Linked DNA regions of Homo sapiens: region 2 is linked to region 1. Evidence: promoter capture Hi-C in 16 types of primary human blood cells and fetal thymus (Javierre and others, 2016). All regions are on one chromosome and are shown on one strand. Each heading gives the region's core, a stretch centred on a gene start or on the middle of the fragment in contact. The rest is flanking DNA. Distances are from core to core; before and after follow the strand shown.

Region 1 (6,984 bases), core at 3,780-6,279:
ACTAAAGGAAACAGTGTTATGGCCCAGGAAGGGCAGGTGACTCCCAGACAGCATGGATCTAAGTGGCTGGGAGCCAGGGGTCGGGGGAGAATTTTCACTGATTGCACGTCATATCATGAGAGTTTTGAGTCATATGAATTCATCACACTAAAAAAAAAAAAAGGTGGGAAAGAGGTAGATTCTTGCCCATCAAGAAAATCCTTCACAATTTCTTTCTGCTTGTTCTTTAAAATAAATAATTATTTAGAAGATTGCCATTTCCATACAGTTCTAAAAAATCTATTAATATTTAAATATTACAGTAATAAAAACTAGTATTCATTGAGTATTTACTGCTCCAGACTCCACTCTAAGCACTTAATTACTAAGTACTTTGATCCTCAGAATATCTCAAGGAAATATTATAATTAAATATATACTATCTATAATGAATAACAGATATATTATACATATAATAGAATATTATAGTTCAAATTTTACAGAGGAGAAAACTGAAAGTTACAGAGGTTAAGTAACTCACTGAATGTTGAATGTTCACTCCTGGTAAAGCAATAAAATCAGGATTAAAACTTAGGTAGTTTAGCTGTAGAAGTAAGAAATAGAAAAAAATATATACTCTTAAATCTGATGGAGAAGGGGAGGAAAAGGAGGTTATAAGGAAGTGGAGTTATATGATTTTAGGATTGCTGAGAGTGGATGGTCACTAGATACATTCTAAACAGAGGATGAAGTGTATATCAGTTATGGTCACAGAGATTACTATAAAATACAAAAACAAAACCAATCCTTTCAAATTATAAGGAACATAAACAAAGCAAAGGAAACACAAACCATACCCATGAAATACTTTTTTAAAAGAAGCAACAAAAATAGAAATAATAATATAACTATGATGCAAGTAATACCACATATTTATTATATCAACGACTAGAAATTATCTAGAAGTTCTTCTATTAAATTAGAAATTTCATATTGGAATACGATGTCAAACTCCTAAAACAAAATTATTCAAAGTTGAAAAAGAATGGAAAAATACATATCAGGCAAATGCAAACAGAAAGCAGGACTTAAGACCTTAACATCAGACAAGATTCACATAAATTTTAAAAGCATTTTATAATGGAAATTAATATATTTTTAATTTAAGAAAGCAAAATCACAAATCTTACATACATATGTGTTCACTAAAACACATAGAATCAAAATTCGTAAAGCGCAAACTACAAAAAGTACACAGAAATATAGGCTGAAATATATTATTTGTAGAAGACTTAACCTCACTCAGCCTGTGTTAAGACTGCATTATTTGTTCATTACCATTTGTTGCCCCCTCCCATTCATTCTTTCCATCCTTCTCTGTAGGCAGAATATACTTTTTTATCCCATTCACTTAGGGGCTTAACTATGCAATCTGCTTCAAACAAGGGAATGTGGATATGTGACATGCATGTGACATGGACCCCATATCTGAGCATGAACTTTAAATGCACCTGTGTAGTTTAGCCCTGCCTCTCTTGTCCATGCCAGAGCTGGGATAAGGATGAGGTGGGTGAGACAAGGTCTTGCAAGTGCAGGGTGAGATTCTGTGTTTATTTAAAATTTTGGTATTTCATTAATCATGGATTTTTGCATGAATTTTTATTTTTAAAAATATTATATTAGTATATTATTTATCTTGATAACAGAGTGTTTCAGAGTCTGTTGTCAAGACTTGCAGGCAAGGCTTTGCAGGCAAGGCCAGTGTCCCATTGTAGCCCTGGTTCCAGCCCTATACCATGAGAATGGCATGTACTCAGAGCGTGACATCTTCCTCAGCCTCAGGTATGAAATGAGAAGACCTGTGGAGCTGGACTGAGCTGAATCAAGCTGAATCAGTCTAGATTTTGGACTTGCATGGGGCCTGTAGCTCCTTTGTTGTGGCCAATGTCTCCCATTCGGAATGGCTGTATTTATCCAATGCGTGTACCCCCATTGTATCTAGGAAGTAACTAACTTGCTTTTGATTTTACAGGCTTATAGGCGGAAGGGACTAGCCTTGTTTCAGATGAGACTTTGGACTGTGGACTATTGAGTTGATGCTGAAATGAGTTAAGACCTTGGGGAACTGTTGGGAAGGCATGATTGATTTTGAAATGTGAGGACATGAGAGTTGGCAGGGACCAGGGGAGGAATGATATAATTTGGCTCTGTATGGTTTTATCAAGGGTCTCCACTTTTGCGTCTTCCTCATTCTCTCGTTGCCTGCTGCCACCCATGTAAGACGGGACTTGCTCCTCCTTGCCTTCCACCATGATTGTGAGGCTTCCCCAGTCACATGGAACTGTAAGTCCAATTAAACCTCTTCCTTTATAAATTGCCCAGTTTTGGGTATGTCTTTATCTGCAGCGTGAAAATGGACTAATACGTTAAGTTGATACCAGTAGAGTGGGGTGCTTCTGAAAAGATACCTGAAAATGTTTTTCTCAAAAGATCAATATCATTTTATATTTTAATTGATTTTAAAAAGCTTTCCTCTAGGTTGTCTCTGGACAGTTTTAAAAATGACTAAGGCTAATGGGTGTTCCCTCACTTACATGAGAGAAATAAACCAGGAATTTTGGTTTATGAATTACGTTTGTGAATTGTTTCATGCTGAAGGGCACAGAGTTGAAAGGAAATTTTTGGATTCACTTGGGGTGGTCCCTGATTTCTGACAGGAACGTGACTAAACTCTTCCTGAATTGGTGTATTAATTCAAAATAAAAAATCTGTAGGAAAGAAATTCCAAAACTTTCATTTGTATTAACTCAGTTTTGGGTTTCATAACTCTGGCTGTTGGGAAAATGTCTAATTCTCTTAAGGATATAAGCTTCCAACACAGTCAAGATCATTACTTTTATCAAGGAAAACCTAAGTAGCCTAGAGAGTAGAGATCTTATCTTCAAATGTTACAGATAACACCTTGCACAGAACATTACAGATAGTAGATGCCAAATAAATATAGACGCCAATTAAATTGAACTGAACAGCAGGGGTGAAGTTGTTGGGCAGCAAATAACATTACTGACTTGAGACTTCATTGCTGTGTCTTTCTCATTTCCTGACATGAACACTTGGATTCTGTAAAAAATATTTATTCAGAACAAGAACAATGCTGACTTTTCTATGAAGATCATTCAGTGATTCATTCAACAAATATTTGTGGTGCAGGTGCCAGGCACTGTCCCAGGTTCTGAATATTTTCACTGCGTGCTACTGTGTTTTAAATAATAGTGTGCAATCCTAAGAACGTAAACTAACTAAAGGTTTCTGATATGAGAGTTTAATGAGCCCCTGCTCAGGGAGTTTGCTGTGAACCCTTCACTGAATGTGGTCACATTCCCTAACATCACTAATTATGTAATGCCAAGTCCCTTAAGAATATCATTAGGTAACCTGCACTTCCCCATCAAGAATCTTAAAGTGAGGGAGTTAACAGTGGGTTAAGAAAGATAATGTGGTTGCTAGAAAGAATAATAGACCAGGAATTCAGAAACTGAGCTGTGAAGTGCTGTCATCTCTGTCAAGTCACTTAATTCACAGAATCTGTTTCCCTATCTGTAAAATAAAATTAGAAAAATGTTAAAGCGCTCTTTTAGGTTTGATATTCTGTAATCTTGTTAATAGATCTAATTAAGTCTAAATTCTAGGAGGAAGATAAACTCTACATTAAGAGTTTTGGCTCAATTCCTATTAATGGTGCAAAAATTTCTCTTATGTTGTGACATCAAAAAGAAAATACAAATAAACAAAGAAATAAATGTGTATGTAAATATTATTTTAAAGTGGTCACCAAGAGCACCATTTGACAGGTAATTTGACCCTTCAGTGCTTTGTCAAATATACTTCATGATTTAGCTACAGCAGGTATTTCTTCACTTCTCTTTGTAAATTTTTCTTTATCCAGATGGCAGAGGGGTTGAAAAAAGGTGGGGGGAGGGGCTGGCTACTGCATATTTATGTTACTGCTAAAACTTAAATTTTTATTTTTTAAAGTTAGAAGGTTTCCAATTTCGAGGAGTTTAACTTGTAGTTGGATTTTAGATGCTCCTCTGGCTAACGCTGGACATGAAGACAGACAGCAAAGCGTGGGGAGAGAGATCTAGTTTAAGTTCGAGGGAAAAAAATAACAGACGCAACTTAGATAAAAGAATACTACCATCAAAAAAAGGGGGGCTAGAGCCGGCGATGGCCTTGAGGATTAGGACACCTGCCGAGCCTGGAGTAAACAGGTAATGTCAGGCAGGTCCTGGAACCCCGGGAGGCCCAAGTTCTTGCTGCGGGAAGAGGGATTAGCAGAATGATAACGCAGGTCTGTTTGTGTTTTAGGGGTTTTAACATGCATTCTGCAAGTAAGTGACCTATCCAGGTCATTCGATTCAGGCTCAGAAAAAAAACCCCGCAAATTAATATATCTAAATGCTGAGATAGTGACACCTTTTTAAAAAAGTTATACATAAGCATCTTTATCAAAAAGCATTACATTTTAAGGCAAAAATCTGAACTGTCACAGTATCCACCTCACCGAGTTCAGCAGCCCCACCTTGGGTCAGGGCTGCCCCTGCAGCGCGGGCCCCCGAAATGCCCGCACCGCCCACGCCGCCCGCACCGCGCGCACCCAGCCGGGCCAGGGCGAGGGATCCAGGTCTCCCGGTCTCTCAGGGCGCGCGCCCGGGGTCCGGGGGTGGGGGGCGTGGAGGCGGTTCCCTTGGAGCGCCCAATCAGCAGTAAGGCCCGGCGGTGGCGCCAGTGACGTAGACCGCGCTTCCCTCCGCCCCACTGCGGGCCGTCGCTCGGCGCCGTCAGCCACGCGCGCTGCAGCGCGAGGGGAGAGCGAGAAGGAGGGCTTTGGGGCCGACCGGCTGTTGGAGGGCGGCGGGTCGCGGGGAGCGGGGGAGTGAGCATGCGCAGCGGCTCCGGGGAGCGCAGGGGAGGAGGGGCCGGCGCTGAGAGGCGCGCGCGTGCGCGTGCACGAGTGGCCCGCCGGCGGCTGCGGGTGGAGGGGGCGGTTCCTCGAGTGTCGGCGACCCGAGGGCGGGCAGGCGGGCGGCAGGTGCCGCCGCAGCCTCTGGCTGGTCCCGCGTCTCCGTCCTCCGGCGGCGATGAGCTGGGCCCTGTCGGGGGCTGCACCTGCCGGCTGCCCATCAGCACCGGCCTCCTGGCGTGACCTCGGCCTCCTCGCGTGTCCAGTCCCCGCGGCGCGGCGCTGCCCCTGAGAGGGAGCGGCGGCGGCCTCCTCCGCCCCGAGTCCTCGCTCGGGGGCCGCGCGAGGACGGCGCCCGGCCCCCTCCCCTCCTTCCTCCGTCCGCCGTCCTCAATGTCTCCCCGGCGGGGAGGGGGCTGCCTGGGAGACACGCTGAGCGGCCCCCCCACGGAGGCCCTCCGGCTGCAGCAGCAGCAGCGCCCGGCCCGGCGTCCCGCAGCCTCCACCAGCGGCGGCGGCCTGGAGGAGCCGCGCACCCGCCGCCGCCCCCCGAGCCTCGCAGCCGCCGCCGCCGCCCGGCACCCGAGGAGAGGGCGGCGGGCGCCCCTCGGGGAAGATGAAGGCGGAGGGGGGCGACCACTCCATGATCAACCTGTCGGTGCAGCAGGTCCTGAGCCTCTGGGCCCACGGGACGGTGCTGAGGAACCTCACGGGTAATTGACGCGCCTGGGCTGGGGACGGGGATGCGGTCCGCCCCTCTCCTGTCTTCTCCTTCCTCGGGAGGGGACACGCTCCTCGCCGCCCCACCCCCGTGCGCGCCCCGCTCGGAGCTCCAGGTCCCGGCGAGGAAGGTGTTAATCGGAGCCACTCTGCGCGTGTCCCGGGGGCGCCGGCTCCCGCCACCCCCTTCCCTGAGTCGCCAGGGGAGCATCAGCGACCCCCGCTCCTGCCCCGCACGGGGAGAGCTCCCGGTGGCGGCCCGGCCTCTGTAGTACGCGCGGAGTAGCTTTAGTGCTGAGACTTGAGCGCATTTCGCTTTTATTCCATTACCCTCCTCCCCTCCCCCTTCTACACACATCGCTTCTTGCTATTTACATCTTTTTCTGATTTAGTTCTTTTTCTTTCTGGCAAATCTCAAGCCAAATGTAGAACCTAAAATCATTGCCCACAATGGTCGATTTACTTTTTCAACCGCTAATTTTTTGGGCGATGTAGATAACTGAGTAAATTATAGTGGGTCAGGGGCTGAGCTAAGGTCTAGTGCGGTCTAAGCGTGTTAGCTTCATATATCTCCTTCCCCTCCCATTTCCTTTTGTCTGTCTGTCTCTTTCCCTCAGGCCTCCAGCTGCTGCTTCTGAGACATTTGATAATTTTGTGTATTTCCCTTCATTTATTAAGGCTGTCAGTAATTGGCCTTATAACATCAATTTCTATTTGTAAAAGTGAGTGATAAAACACACAATATTTTTATTCAGTCTGTAGATTTGCTTTGTGAAGAAACTTCTGGTTTTGTTATGTGGAAATGCTTACATTATACTTTGAGTTCCGAATTTAAAAATTATTCTCTGAAGTAGAATTTACGAGAAAGAGATTCAGTTGCGATTTGGTGACTCCTCAGTGCCTGCTTTTCAGAGGAAAAAAATCTTAAAAAAATACTCAGAATTTAATTCTTGAAAATGTGTAAGGCAGTTAATTTCAGTAGAACATTAGTATTTCAAAATGCATTTTGTCAAACTGGTTAAAGTGTTGTGAGTATTTTACAAATATAACCTGGGTTCATATATATAACATATATATAAAGTCTGGCATGGTATAGAATACAAACATTCATAGAAGAAAATTTTATGGAATTATATACCACAAAAGACAACTTTAAGGACACTGGTTTCTTCGAATGGAAACTATACAGTTAAAGTAGATTCTGGATTGCTTCATGCTATCCTCACTTTTAAGCTGTGGTTATTTAACTTGAAACAGACTGACTTTACATGATGATTGCCGGTAAGGAATATATTGTTATAATTCTGGAAAACTAAATGGAC
Region 2 (7,753 bases), core at 4,744-7,243, 3.1 Mb before region 1:
TCCAAGATACCAATCAATACGTGAATCATTGCTTTCTCTTGGAAGCACACATTTTGTTAAATATTTAAAACTTAATTTTCATAATGAAAATTTTTCAAGATAGTCTCTACATATGCCTCCTCCCCACTTAAATTATTTAACTCTTGAATTTTGATCTGTTAAGAAGCTCTTTTCTACTCTATACTAAAAAATTCAAATTTATGAATCAGCCAGTATCCCCTAAGTGACTATCTTGGGCAAAACTAGTAAATGCCCATACTGACCGCAATTATTATAAATAATTAACATATTACAAACATATAACTTTTTTACCTGTAAATACCCATAAATTAGGTAAAATACAAAAACTCCAGCAACACATATGAAAAACTGAGTAAGTTTGTTAAACTTGCTGAGATTCATGCCAAGTACCACAACGTCGTCAACTGACTTGATGTGTGGTGACATTGTTTGGGTTTTGGATGGCACAGTGATAGAAATATATTTCCTGGAATTGTTGAACTTGAGATCCATTGTTATTTTGCTGCATTCAATGCTTTCAGAGTTATTTTTGTTGGTTTCCTGGACTGTTATGTTCTGTATGTCTTTTGCTTGCTGTGTCAAGTCCTAGAGAAGGAAATAAGCAATTAAAACATTTACATGATAAAGTTTAATCCTCCAAATAATATTCCAAATCATACTTTAAAGTTATACAAATGTCTGCTTCTCTCTGGATATTAGTATATTAATTCCTGTATTCTAGGTTCCAAATCACCAAAAACAATATGCCTACAATCTTTAAACAATTTGTCTACAGCTGATAAAGATTAGTACATCATTAAACTGAATATAAACCATACTTATTTCCACAGCAACAAAAGCTAGTTATTTCATCAAAGAACTAAACATGTCTTTGTGTCTATATATAGTTGATGCATAACATTCTCAACATTAAAGTCAATCTTCACTTGTAGAGGAGTAAAAAATAAGTAATTCTCCTTTAAATACTAAGACAATTCTAAGATATATTTGCTAATGACATTTAAAAAATAAACTAAAAAAATGAAGGCCAGGTGTGGTGGCTCATGCCTGTAATCCCAACATTTTGGGAGGCTGAAGCAGAGAGGTTGCTTGAGACCAGGAGTTCAAGACCAGCCTGGGCAACATAGCAAGACCCTCTCTCTACCAAATAAAATAAAATAAAATAAAATAAAAAAATTAGCTGGACATGGTGGTGCATGCCTGTAGTCCTAGCTACTTGGGAGGCTGAGGCAGGATGATCACTTGAGTCCAGGAGTTTGAGGCTGCAGTAATCTATGATTGCACCCCTGCACTCCAGCCTGGGCGACAGAGCCAGACCCTGTCTCTAGAAAATAAATGAAAAAAACAAAACAAAGAAACCCCAAACCTAAGGTCCTTAAAAAGCTAGATTTATCAGAGACTACAGAAAGCACAATATGCTTCAGCAGTAGCATCTCTTAGGTTAAAAAATGTTTTCTTCCTCTGGAACAAATCATTTTAATTTACATTCTTCTGGGATGTAAAAGGCTGGAGAAAACATGTCATTTTTTGTCAGTCTAAAAAAAATTATGAAGCCATCAATTTCTCTTTGGATTTATATAAACTGAAAAAATGAACTCCATGTAAAGACTGAGGAAAGACTGAAGAATTATGACAAAGTATAGAATAAACCTATGTAAAAGAAAAAGTTATTTTCTTAGAAACGACTCATCTGTTTTTAATTCCAGTGGGAACAAAAATTTAAACTCTGCGGCACGAAGAGAAATAAGAATAATTTTGACAGTGAGTTTTCCTTTGGTAATGTTTTTTTAAACTGTTACAAGATGGCTTAAAATGGCCAAAATTAGAGTCGCCTCTTCATGATCACTTCTAGTTTGCTAATTTACAGAGGTTAACCAGGTCATCCTTAGGAATTAAAGGAGGGGTCAAGGATCTGAATACCACTTGTAACTAAAAATATGCAGCCACCACAACATTTTATAGGGCACCTGCCTTATTTCTAAATAGAAAAGTTGTTTCATGAAGTTTACTGTGTTCCTCTTGTTTATTCTTCACTTTCCTTTGTTCTTGCTTCCCACATTATGTTTCAATCACTGTCATTTGTAAGACTTTTTATGTAATCTTGCAGGGTATCTTTGAGATGTGACTTTCTTTTAAAACCATGCTTTAAATTATCTCTCCTAAATATTTGGTCAAACCTGTGCTTGAATGTAGAAGAGACGAAAACCTTAACAATTTACTCTTTTCTATGTGTGAGCATGGATATAGTGCACCATTCAAATAAACCCGGCCTTACATAGGTTTCTAAGTTTGCTCTCCCTCCACTCTCAATAAAGCCCTAAACCACCCATGTTTCATTCCTGAAATACACCAGGGACTTTAAAACACCGCTGCCTTCTGTTCATGATGTCCTTTCAGCCTGAGGTCTTCTTTCTCAAGGTCAGGTTTGGAAGTTCAGCTTTAATATCCCCTCCTTTGTGACACCATCACTAATCCCCCCAGTTATTAGAAAAGAGAACTTGAAAGGCAAGATTCAAATCTTATTTGTCTCTGTGTCCTTGGTACCTGGCATATACTCTGACCTGATATTCAGATGAACCAAATAAACTGATCCTTCCTCTTGATACCCTCAAACTTCAGCTTGCAATCACTCACCTTCTGCTTGGATACGATTTTTGAAATGGATGGTGGTACTGGCAAACTTTATGAGCAAAACTGAAAATCTTATAGAAAAAGAGTGGGGAAAATTTACAAATAATGCTTACATATTTACACATACATACAGAATAAATAAAACTTCTAGAAAATATCTTTCTTTCCTGCTTTTATTGGCATCAAAACATTTCTCCAGAAGGTCACGCTTTCCCAAAGTCACCTTCTTCTGAGATGTTTGTAATTTAGTAAACTGCCAAGCATATTGTAATGACTCAATACAATTATAGGTAATAGTATAAGAAAGCAGTATAGCATAATGCTTTCCCCATGCTTTGGAATTTTGACAGATATGAGTTCAAGATCTGGCTTTACTACTTATTAGCTGAGGAGCCTTGGGCAAATCGTTTAACTTTTCTGAGCTTTAGGTTCTGCACCTTCAAAAGTGGGAGGAGTTAAAAATGTGCCTATCACAGGATTTTGGTTAGGACTATATGAAATAAATGTAAAATTGCCTGGCATATGACAGTCCATAAGTGTGTTAGCTGTCATCCTTCAACTTTTTAGAAATATTGCTAGGGTGATATGGTGTGCTCAAGCTGACTCACCCCTTTGATGTGCAGCTGGAAATACAGACCTGAATTTCCAACGCTGCCTTCTCTCCTGAGATCCAGAGCTCTACGTCTAAATGCTTCTTTGATACCTCTACTCATAAGCTCTGCTGGCACTTCATATTTAAAATGGCCAAAGCTGATTATTTTCCCCTCAAAACAAATCTACTGTTTGTTCCTATATTCCCAATCTCACTTAACAGTACCTAGTATGAAACACAAGCTAAAAATCTGGGAGTCATCTTAAGAATCTTTCCTTTTCCTCACATTCTATATTTTGCCAAGATTCCTGTTAACTCTACCTCTATAACTATATCTAATATCTGTTTCGGACCCTACTCCATCAGGCAGCCATTTTCTCTTGCCTAGATTACGAGACTGTTTATAATCAATTCTTCCCTTTCTGACCCATCTGTCACATGGCTCAACGTGAAGTCTGATCATGCTGCATCCATGAATAAGGCCTCGAAGTTAAAAACGAGTTGATGTCCTGGACTCAATCATATTATACATATTTTTCAAATTCCTAAATGATAATGGTATAGCTTTTTCGTTTTTATACTTGTTTCTCCTAAAAGCCTATGAAATCCTTAAGGCAAGAGATATCTTCCTATGATGTTCTGGCACATAACAAAAATGTAAGATTAAATGAAGGACTCTACCACAGTTTAGCAAGCACCATTTATTTAATCAACGTTATTCAGCTCCTTTCCAACACTTTACCACTTCTAATACACTTCTTGGCAACTTTATGTGCTGCAGATCTAGGCCATATGTGCAGAATGAAATCTCTCTAGCACTGTCTTTTCTACATGTATGCCAAAATACCGACATTGCTACTGAAACTCCCCACAAAACATTTGAAATGAACATGAAAATAAATTTGTTTCCTCTGCCTGAGGCATCAGTCTCATAAAACTTGCCCACCAAAGCCTTGCATTTAGAATGCTGTTTTATTAATAAGAACATCACTGGTGAGAAAGTGTGACTGATAAAGACCTCTGATACCTAATAACTGTGATCATTGGGGAATGTCTGCCATATCCCTTCCACTTCAAACATTAATGACTGATACTAACCATCATCTAAAAAAAAAAATGGGCCAAACTCCTTGTGATGCAAGGAGCAAAAATGAAGCATGGAATTAAAATTAGTTTTCAGACTAAATGATCAACATTGTGCTTTGCTTTTGAAGCTCACAGTAATCAGTGAAACTAAAATATATATATATATATTTTAAAAATCACAGGTGTGTATAATTGCCTGAGGCCTCTTCCTAAATTCAACACAGATATTCAACTTCAACTGCTAAAATGGAATAAAAAGGTAGCATTTCCGGCATACAATGTATATTTAAAAATTAAAATTAGTGATAATGTTGAGTTACAATGACCTATTGAAGTCACAATTATTTCAGTTTATTTTTGAGTTTTCCGACCTGAAGGACAAAAGTCCCACACCAAAAAAAGGTAGAATATGAAAAAAAAGTCATTACGGTGTCATTAACCTGAAAAAACGTGATTTTAACTATACTTTGCCACACTCAACGTTACAAATAAAAGAATCTTACCATGCCATTATGCCTTGATTAACTGCGCTCCGGAATCAATCATGGCCTATGGTGTACGATTATAAAACAGAAAAAACAAAGTTCCATCTCATTTCTTTGTACACACATCATTACACAAAGGTGGAGAAACCCTGTGCTAATGTTTGAAGACTATTCTTTTTTTTTTCCAAGAGAAAAAGTTAACACTAGGACTTTATATATTAAGTAATTAAGTAAAAATAACGCTGTCTAAATTATTTTGAAATGCTGCCTCTCTTCCAAGTTCCAAACTATCTCAATTCACTTAGAAAAACGTTTAATCAAAAAACAATTCTAGGCTTCTGATATCCTAATGTAGAAAAAATGCAGATACTCAACACTTAAGATTTTGTTAGCGCACCAAATCATTCCATCTTTTACTTTCAATATTCCTTAAATAATAAAAAGACGGGAGAGATAATTCAGTTGCAAAGACTGGAGGAAACTTGCAGAACTTCTAGTGGAAGTTTATGCCATAAACTTAATAGCCCAGCCAGAACAATCACATTCTACTGCAAGCCAAATGGAGAAAAGAGTACCTTGGAGTGCCCCTATTTAATAAACACGGAACGAGGAAACAGTTAACTGTAAATACAGTCTAGAGGTATCCAGGTGACTGACAGTTCTCCAGAGACCCCGAGAACAGCGTAAAAGACCCCTTGAGGTCACCTCACCCCTGCGAGTCCACGGATTGGGACCTGAGGGAGTTCTCGCCAGCCCGAGGGCGAAAAACGGGCGAGGAGGAACAGATGCTCCTCCCTGGAAACCGCCCGGCCGGTTTCCGCTCTTTCAAAAAAGGGAATCACCCGTTTCTTCCATCCCGACCTCATCCATTCCTCGAACGCTCCTTCTGGATGAGGAAGATGGGCAGTGTCAAGGTTTTCTGGAGGAGAGGAGATCTGGGTCCCAAACACAGGAAAGGCCCCGAAGGCACGCGTACCCCAAGGCCGGTATGTCACCCGGAAGGGTGACGGCAGCCTGCGTGGCGTCTGAGCTAGACGGAGCATCTCCCCCTCCCCTGGTCCGTCGCCATCACCTCCTCTTCCTCCTCCTCCTCGCCCACTCCTGCACTTTCCACCGCGGCGGTCGCCTCCCCGGAAAGCACTCTCAACTCCGGCGCCCGCAGGCCACTTCCGCCTATGTGTCCCTGCGCGCGTGCGCAGACGCGTGGCCCCGCCTCCCGACAGGCCTGTGTGGCCGGTGGCGGGCGGGCCGTTACCTCCCGCGCATGCTCTATGGGGTAGAGACGCTAGGCCGGCACTGCCTAGGTGGGCCGGGCGGTGCGAGGGTCGCCTTTCAGCCTTTACCTCTACCCACTGAAATGGAGTAGGTCGGTGAGCGCCGATCTGCTGGAGAATCTCATTATCCCATCGGCGCTCTGCCTGCTCCTGGCCTCCAAGCCTCTGAAGCCCCTCGGGTTTCAGCTGCCGGCTACCCTCGAGCCCGTGGTGCCCACGAGAGAGGCGACTTTACGTCAGCGGCCCTGGGCTGAGATTTGAGAACGCGACCAAGTGGAGAATGTTGGAGCCAGATTTTAAAATCCTTGTCTTCCTTCTGCGTGCTACTTGATCTAAATGAGATACGGCAAAGTCACAGAACCTGTTTTTATGTTTTTGCCTGATTCATACGGGCTTCTCCGGTGAAGATGGGCCTGAAGTAACGCTTGGGTTGCTTCTGACGTTATAACTCATCCTGTAGCTGCAGCAACCGTGGTCCTTGCAACCTCATAAAAATGTTGCCAGCATTGTTTCGATAGTGCTGCTTAATTCTTGGAAGGTAAATCTCAAAGCTTGAGGACCAGCCATCAAAACTTTTGTAAAAGGTTTTCCCCGCGTTTAGGGCCTCATCCATCACCACTGAGATGTAATAACGTAAAAACCAAGACGGTTTGGGGATGAGCTGTTTTCAGAGAATAATTAAGGAAAATATTACTGTAACGAAGATGGACAATTTTTGAAAGCATGCCTTGAATACCAGAAAGGGATGAATTGGATTAATATGTATGTTAGAATCCAGTCAGTTATGGACAACTTTTAAAATTTTACAGGCACTCTTCAGAAAGGGTAGCATTTGTGTCTTGTATTGGGATCGAGGGTTTGTAAGAAAGCAAGGCACCTACTTTGGTGGTGAGAAAAAAAGGTCTGGGTAGACATTTTCGTTTAATACTTGCCAACGTTGTTAGGCTGGTGTTAGCAACACTTAGGAATGTTGGAATTAAGGCTTAGAGAACTTAAATTTCCTAAAGAGATAGTAAATGACAAAACCTTTCAGTGATGCCATATCGTCACTGTATAATGTGAATTTAGTACTACTGTTAGCCATTTATATGGTGGTTATTTATCAAGTATTTATTAAATGGGCATATGTATAGCTCATATCGTAAACTATGCGTATGAGCTCCCTGTCCTGAAGAAATTAGGGGTTTCCATGAGAAAGTAAATGGCAGTATAAAACAACTTAAGGTACAAGAGGTGTTACAAGGTACCATCTGCTCATGCCTGGACAATTGCAGTAGCCGTGAGCATAGCTTTCTGCATTCCCTTTATTTCTCTACATAGTTGCATTCAGCAGCTGGAGTGATCCCATTAGAACCTGAATATGCCACTCCTCTGTGCAGAACCTTTTAGCGGTTTACCATTTTACTCAGATTAAAGTTCAAAATTCTTACCCTGACTTTTAAGACTGAACTTATTCTTGATGGATCACATCCAAGCTACACTTCAGAGCTTTTCTAATTGCCCCCAAGCACAGCAAGCATCAGTGCTTTGTAGCTGTTGTTCCTTCTGCATGGAACACTGCCCTCTCAGATGTCCACAGAGCTTGCTTCCTCATTTTTTTCCAGTCACTGCTCAAATGTCACCTGGCTCTTCTCTGACTACCATGTCAGTGAAATATTTTTACA

Evidence for each region. Contacts are between HindIII fragments. The CHiCAGO score rates a contact against its expected background, and 5 or more counts as called.
Region 2: the fragment with the promoter of SLC35B3 here is called in contact with the fragment with the promoter of TMEM170B in region 1 in 2 of 17 cell types (activated CD4 T cells and non-activated CD4 T cells); the score reaches 7.6 in activated CD4 T cells.

Annotation. Positions count from the first base shown.
Region 1 is chr6:11,532,720-11,539,703 of GRCh38, forward strand. TMEM170B (transmembrane protein 170B) reads left to right here and starts at 5,030. Exons shown (of 3, transcript NM_001100829.3): 1 at 5,030-5,655. The coding sequence starts at 5,559. RefSeq lists silencers at 4,494-5,323, 5,354-5,513, 5,614-5,693, 5,704-5,983 and an enhancer at 5,323-5,824. The HindIII fragment of the contact is 5,632 bases long and covers 2,847-6,984 here.
Region 2 is chr6:8,429,552-8,437,304 of GRCh38, forward strand. SLC35B3 (solute carrier family 35 member B3) reads right to left here and starts at 5,994. Exons shown (of 10, transcript NM_001370479.2): 1 at 5,792-5,994; 2 at 313-606. The coding sequence starts at 513. It overlaps LOC100506207 (a long non-coding RNA gene), which reads left to right and starts at 6,072. Exons shown (of 5, transcript NR_038980.1): 1 at 6,072-6,627. RefSeq lists enhancers at 5,622-5,761, 5,734-6,275, 5,772-5,831, 6,032-6,201, 6,142-6,221 and 2 more. The HindIII fragment of the contact is 10,856 bases long and covers 1-6,638 here.